Regions from separate parts of the Homo sapiens genome. Here region 2 is linked to region 1. The links are contacts of gene promoters, found by promoter capture Hi-C in blood cells and fetal thymus (Javierre and others, 2016). All regions are on one chromosome and are shown on one strand. The core of a region is centred on a gene start or on the middle of the fragment in contact, and the rest is flanking DNA. Distances in the headings are between cores, read along the strand shown. Region 1 holds the start of TTC23L (tetratricopeptide repeat domain 23 like). Region 2 has its middle 34 kb from the start of RAI14-DT.

Evidence for each region. Contacts are between HindIII fragments. The CHiCAGO score rates a contact against its expected background, and 5 or more counts as called.
Region 2: a fragment that was not itself captured here is called in contact with the fragment with the promoter of TTC23L in region 1 in 1 of 17 cell types (total B cells); the score reaches 6.7 in total B cells.

What each region holds. Positions count from the first base shown.
Region 1 is chr5:34,837,483-34,840,996 of GRCh38, forward strand. TTC23L (tetratricopeptide repeat domain 23 like) reads left to right here and starts at 1,682. Exons shown (of 11, transcript NM_144725.4): 1 at 1,682-1,777; 2 at 3,183-3,257. The coding sequence starts at 3,190. TTC23L-AS1 (TTC23L antisense RNA 1) reads right to left here and starts at 1,850. Exons shown (of 2, transcript NR_183259.1): 1 at 1,701-1,850; 2 at 65-1,535. RefSeq lists an enhancer at 1,972-2,081. The HindIII fragment of the contact is 6,317 bases long and covers 1-3,514 here.
Region 2 is chr5:34,620,208-34,623,632 of GRCh38, forward strand. No RefSeq gene overlaps it. Among named protein-coding and RNA genes, the nearest start is that of RAI14-DT, 34 kb to the right of the region's middle. RefSeq lists an enhancer at 37-331 and a silencer at 738-1,098. The HindIII fragment of the contact is 1,834 bases long and covers 1,183-3,016 here.

The sequences.
Region 1 (3,514 bases), core at 432-2,931:
ATCACACCACTGCACTCCAACCTGGGCCACAGAGTGAGACTCTGTCTCAAAAAAAGAAAAAAAATAGTCGCCAAAGTTATTTTATTTTGATTTATAATTTTTACAGATGCAGGCAACATGCTTCCGGTCAGAGCTAATGAAATGGAGGCCGAATTAGAGCGTTGGCTTTAGGAATGGGAATTCAGTGCCTGTTCTGGTTCTTCTCTCCACAATTATCAGCAAAAGCAAAGGTTTAGAAAAGAGACATTACCTTTAATATACTTAGAAACAATCTCACAGCCATTTCCTAGAATGAAAGAACATTAAAACCTTTCAATTTGATGACCAACTTAACAAGGGGTAAAAGAAATAAATGTTGGAGAACAGGAAACAGGTTCTTCCTTTTTACTCCCATACATGTTAAATACTGTTCATAGAGTCACAAAAATCGTTTACCCCTTACAGAAACCTGGAACCAGAAGGCGCTTCAGAAAGCAAGTGGTACAAAAACTTTCACCGTATAGGCAAGAAAATTGGGACCCACTGGCCGTGACTCGGCCCAGGCTACAGAGTCAAAACCAGAACCTTGACATTCTGAAATCAGGTTCATTGCTGTCATCATTGTTCCATGCTGAGAGTTTTCTTAGGAAAAAGAATAAAGTGGGGGAATCTTTCCAAAATTGTGACTATGGAGCTCGAAAGTACAGATTTAAATCTTGAGTTAACAGACCATACAGGTTTTACTTAAGAGATATTCAAGCAAACTCATTTAAATAACTCCTCCAACCTAACTCCAAAAAGGCTTTCTTGGCAGTCTTGGATCAATGGCAATTAAACTTCCAGCCTAGAGCTGGAAATAACAAACACCAAACGTAAACACCATCTTTCACATTCTCAATGTTCTCCTTGTCTCTCTACCTAGTCTGCTCTTTTCTGAAAACAACTGGGACACATTCACTCCAACTTGACTTGCCATAGGCCTAGTCTATGATAGGGTTCATAATAACATCCTTCAACATAGCGTTGCAAGAGCTGGCGCTGTTTCTTTGGGTATGGCCACAATTGCCTCTGCACCTTGTGTGTATTACACACACTGTATTCCATGCCAACGAAAGGGTAAGATATGGCTGCATTATTTAGGGCTAAGTGCTAAATAAATAATGAACAGCTAACCATTAGCAGATCTAGTAGTCGATTTCTTACCCTACTCTCTTCCTGCAATCAGCTTTCCTAACCATGCCTAGCTCCAATCTTACTGGGTAACACAGACGGTGCCAGCACAGTCAACAGCCATATCTAAGCCTTTCCTCTGGGGTCCATAAAAACAAAACTCCCGAGGAGCTGTGGGGGTGCACCGTGGCCAGGATCGTCGCCGAATACAGCCCGCACACGTCGCAGCTTTAAATAAGTAGGGCCGTGGGGCCCGGCGCTCCCTTCCATCCTTGGACGGAATGTATCTTCTCTTCCTACGCCTTCACCTCCGAGGGGTAAGGTCTCGTGAGATACAATATGCAGAGGCCAGTTTTGGGGCGAGCCGGAGGCCGGGCGCGTCTAACCTGCGGGGAAGGGAAAGCGGAGGGTAAGGCAAGGGCTGCTGTAGGCGCCAGACAACAGGGACTCTCCGAACCGGAAGTGCCCCGCGTCGCCATGGCTACAGGCGCTCCCAGCAGAACCCGTAGCGTTCCGTTCCCATGGCAACGGTATTGTCTCCTTGGCCGGACCTGGGCTGCGGAAGGTAACTGGGGACGTCGCAGGCTGTGCAGCTTTCGCGAGGCACCGCTTTGGCGCCCGGACCGAGGTGCGCCAGGGTCAGGAGGCCGACGCAGCGGGAGGAAGCCGCGCCGTCGGGCTCAGGGAGCTGGGAGGCTGGTTCCGGGGCGTGGTTTCTCCGCCTTGAGCCAGGTGCCCTTTGCGCACTCGCGCGTTCTCTTAGAGCCTCCGCGGCAGAGAGGCTCTCAGAGCTCGACCTGCGGCGTCAGGGCTTACAGACTTGCCGCAGAACCACAGCGGGAAAAGAGGAGCGATTCGTCCTTGAGGGGCTCAGGGCCGTGCGGAACGTCATAGGAACAGAGTCCGGGAGTTTGAGAGATCAGAACTCTTTGCTGTGGGCATAGTGTTTAAAGTGGAGGTTAAAAAGAGAAATTAGTGACTCTCCCTTTCTGATTTTCGGATAATGGATGCTCTGGAGCCTGGGTCAGAAAGCCACTCAGGGCTCGGTGGGAATTAGTGATTCTGGAGGGTGAAAGGAGAGGCGACTTGGTGGATGTTAACATTCAATAAGTAACTGCGTTCGATTTGGGTTTGATTTAAGCGACTGGCATAGCCTTCCTTGAGAGTTGAATTTCACAAATACTGTATTTAGAAATCACATTTTTCGTTTTGTGCTTCCGAGGTTTCTCCTATCATCTAACAGCAACAACTAAAACAGACACATGAATTTCATTTTATTGTTTTATTTTATTTTGAGACGGAGTCTCGCTCTGTCGCCCAGGCTGGAGTGCAGTGGCGCGATCTCCGCCTCCCGGGTTCAAGCGATTCTCCTGCCTCAGCCTCCCGAGTAGCTGGAACTACAGGCGTGCACCACCACAGCCGACTATATTTTGTATTTTTAGTAGAGACGGGGTTTCACCCTGTTGGCCAGGCTGGTCTCGAACTCCTGAACTCGGGTGATCCACCCGCCTCGGCTTCCCACAGTGCTGGGATTACAGGCGTGAGCCTCTGTACCCGCCTCGTGACCCCTGTACTAGAATCTGCTATTAATTAGTGAAATGACCCCGGGGGGGGGGGGGAAAGCAGAATTAACCAATACACTGGCTGTGCTTCGTTTACCACTGAGAGTTGGTTGCTTTGCTTAAATCCAACACGCCGTCAGACCTGCAAAAACAATATCTGAGTTAAGTAGGTGACCATAGTTTTGATGACCCAGGAACTGTAAATGTGCTTGCTTTGAGACATAAAGGCCAGGGATTTTGGAGAAGTAGGGTGGAGTTGAAATTAGGGGAAAGAAATTTAACTTAGACATTTAATTTGGCAAATGTCTGTTTTCCAGCGGTCTCCATATCTAAGTATGCGTAGTCTGTGGATTTAGGATGGGTTATATATTTGAGCAGTTTTAGTTTAATGTTAATAGCAAACCAGAGGGGGAAAATAGAACAGACACCCAGCCTTTTCTCTCAAAGCTGACCTTACCTGATTCTTGGTAGGAAGAAGATGCAAGCCAGCCCCATCCGTATCCCAACTGTTAGCAATGACATCGACTGGGATTTCTGCTTCCATATGTAAGTATCACAGCATTTTGACATCACAGGTACTTACTGGGCTGAAACACTGGGACCTCCTGCTTAAGGCAAACCTGGGTGAGGAGCTTTGCATGAGAAGCGTTCACGACCAGCCTGACCAACATGGTGAAACCCCGTCTCTACTAAAAATACAAAAATTAGCTGCGCGGTAGTGGCACGCGACTGTAATCCCAGCTACTCGGGAGGCTGAGGCAGGAGAATAGCTGAACCCGGAGGCAGAGGTTGTGGTGGGCTGA
Region 2 (3,425 bases), core at 850-3,349, 220 kb before region 1:
AAGGTGAGCACAGAGAAGAGGGGAAGGAAAGAGACAGGTTGAGGGTTACAGCAGTAGCCCAAGTGAAAATGCAAATGAACAGCAGAGGCCATTTAGGTGTCAGCCATATGGCCACCGGAAATCTGCTCTGTGCTGAAGCCATTAGCCTGTTTGAATCTCTCGTGCTCTGTACTGGCCGCCCAGCCTGTGACTCAAAGACTCCACTGCAGGAATACCCAACCTTTTCCTGACAATTTCCCAGAAACTGTGTCATGTTGGGAGTGTGTATCAAGAAGAGGCTGGCCAGTGATTGCTAAGAAAAGCCGTAAATGGGAATAATGGACAAAGTGTGGCTACAGTTTCAGGATTTTTCCAGCGCAAAAAATTCTAGAAACCCAGGGAGTGGAGCATGGTGGAAACCCCAGGCTGGAGATCCTCAGTGTCAGGTTCTGAGGTCAACGTGTAGATCAGAACCAACATGAGGGGCCTCTGCACAGTGTCTTGGGGTGGAGGGCGTGAGTGGGGGTGAACAATGGCAGGATCTAGAAATGCAGATAATTTGAATCCACCCGGAAGTGACTGCGTCTCTAACATTACCTTCATTTTTCCTTTGTAATTAACTTTAATTTATTTTTACTGGTTTGTAGACTACCCAGAGACACTGTGGGAAGATTTGTCAGATAGAATTCTAAAATTCTCATTCATTTCTTTTTATTTTTTATTTTGTAGAGACAAGGGTTTGCTTTGTTGCCCAAGCAGGTCTTGAACTCCTGGCCTCAAGTGATCTTCCTGCCTCTGCCTCCTAAAGTACTGGGATTACAGGCATAAGCCACTGCACCTGGCCTCATTTCTGTTTTTTTTGTTTTGTTTTGTTTTGTTTTGTTTTTTTGAGACAGAGTCTTACTCTGTCGCTCAGGCTGGAGTGCAGTGGCACCATCTCAGTTCGCTGCAATGTCTGCCTTCTAGGTTCAAGTGATTCTCCTGCCTCAGCCTCCAGAGTAGCTGAAATTACAGGCACCTGTCACCATGCCCGGCTGATTTTTGTAATTTTAGTAGAGACAAGGTTTCACCATGTTGGCCAGGCTGGTCTCAAACTTCTGACCTGAAGTGATCCGCCCACCTCGGCCTTCCAAAGTGCTGGGATTACAGGCATAAGCCACTGCACCCAGCCTCATTTCTGTATTTTCAATATACTTTACCTAAAGCTTATTTCACTGTAGGCTGGCAAGTTTCCTGGACAACATAGCATGAGAAAAGAATGTAAGTTTTGGAGTCAGAGAGGAATTTGCCCAAAGTCTGGCTCAGCCGTATTCTAGCTCTATTGTTTTGGTCAAGTCATTCGAATTCTTTCAGCCTCAGTTTCCACATCTGTGTAATGGGAGTCATAAGGATTATAAATAATAGTTGTAAAGTGCCTGGCTCCTACTAGACACCTGATAAATATCAGAATTATAATCATAGTGCCAAGGAAACATTACTTTCTCATATGAACTAGGGGACTTATACAAAATAAAAGAATGCCCTTTTCCACATCTGCAGGTTGTATCAAGTCCTGATATACACAAGTGGTCACACAAAGGAGTTCAAGGTTAAAGAATGAGGAGACTGAGCACCAACCCTTCCCTGGGTCCCTGCCGTTGGCACAACTCACAGCACTGCTAACAAAGGCTCAGGAACAACATCCTCATCACACCCATTCATCATTTTTCACCTTCCTTTTTGAGGTTAGGGATGGAAACTATTAGAGTTAGGAAAATGACTGTAATATTTTCCCCCAGTCATGATATTCTATCAATATGAAAGTTCCCAGAATATTCAACAGCCTCAGAGCTCACCAGGGTGGTAAGCCTAAACTTATTTGCTTTTAAAACATAAATGAAGTTGGTTCTGTAAATGTAACTTCTCACTGAGCCCAGAAATGAAAAATTCCAGCTTGTCACTGATCTCTTACAAAACTTGGAAGGAGCAATCTCCTTTCGTAGGCAGGATTCATATAAAACAGCCCAACTCAGTTCTTGTTTCTTTGTTTGCTCCATGTTTGGTTATAATTAAGTGTTTCATTCTTGAGGTTTCTTATCCACAGAGCTTCCCTGTAGAAGAGTTACCAGAGAATTATTTCTGCCTTTGCAAAGCAGGGAAGAGGTTCCCCCACCCACCTCTGTCTGAGCATTAAATCCCAGACACCAGCAGTTGGACTGAGCCCCACTTTCCAATCCTTTGATATTCCTTCCAATATTTTAGGGTGCAAGTCACCAAAACCAGAAAATCTTTATTGTAATTTTTTAAATTGCTGTTTGTTTAATTGATACCGACAACTAGTATTTCCTTCTTTAACTTTTCTATTTTAGGTTAGACCATGGAAGTTAAAGCAATGTGTGGAGGAAGAGTGTTGTGAGAAAAGAGAATATTAGAAGTAACTTTTATTTTTGGAGATTTTGAAAATAAATAGAGGGAAATGAGATAACCTCATGAAGGAAAGTAAGACTTAAGATCTGGAAGAGATTGAGTAGTTTCCTCATGTAAGGAAACCATAAACATGAAAGGTATCATGGTGACTTGAGTTGGGTTTTGAGAATGAGAAACTTGCTTTCCTCTCGGGCCTCCCCCACAAGTTGGGGAAGCCCACCTGCATTTTCAGGATGCTGGTCCCATGCCCAACCCAAGCATGTAAAATGGAAGAAATGAGCCCAAAGGGGAAGATTGGAAGCCCCAAAATGATCCAGGCTTTTCTCACAACTTAACTTGGTACATCGTGGCCCCAAATGAGAGCATAAAGTGAACCCAGACAACCATTTAAGTGGTAGACCTTGAAAAGAGCATGCTGGCTCCAGATTTTCTCACAGCAGCCTGCAGTTCTTCCCAAGGCTCTTTTCTGTGAGTTAGCTCATTCGAACTTCCTCCTAAAATGTCATGAGCTATCTGGGAGGAGTACATCGCAATGCCATTATTACCCATTATAATTTTAATTTGACTTGATTTCTCACATCATGGGTGCTGTGGACTGAATGTTTGTATCTCCACAAAGTCGATAAATTGAAGCTTTATTTCCCAGTGTGATACTATTAAGAGGTGGGGCCTTTGGGAGGTAATTAGGTTGTGAAGGATGAGCCCTCATGATGGGATTAGTTCCCTTATAAGAAGAGACATGAGGCCGGCTGCAGTGACTCATACCTGGAATCCCAGCACTTCGGGAGGCTGAGGTGGGAGGATCACTTAAGCCCAGGATTTGAAGACCAGCCTGAGCAAATATAGTGAGACCCTCCTCTCCATAAAAAAATTTTTTTGGCCAGGTGTGGTGGCTCATACCTGTAATCCCAGCACTTCGGGAGGCTGAGGTGCGTGGATCACAAGGTCAGGAGATCGAGACCATCCTGGCCAACATGGTGAAACCCCATCTCTACTAAAAATACAAAAATTAGCTGGGTGTGGTGGTACATGCTTGTAAT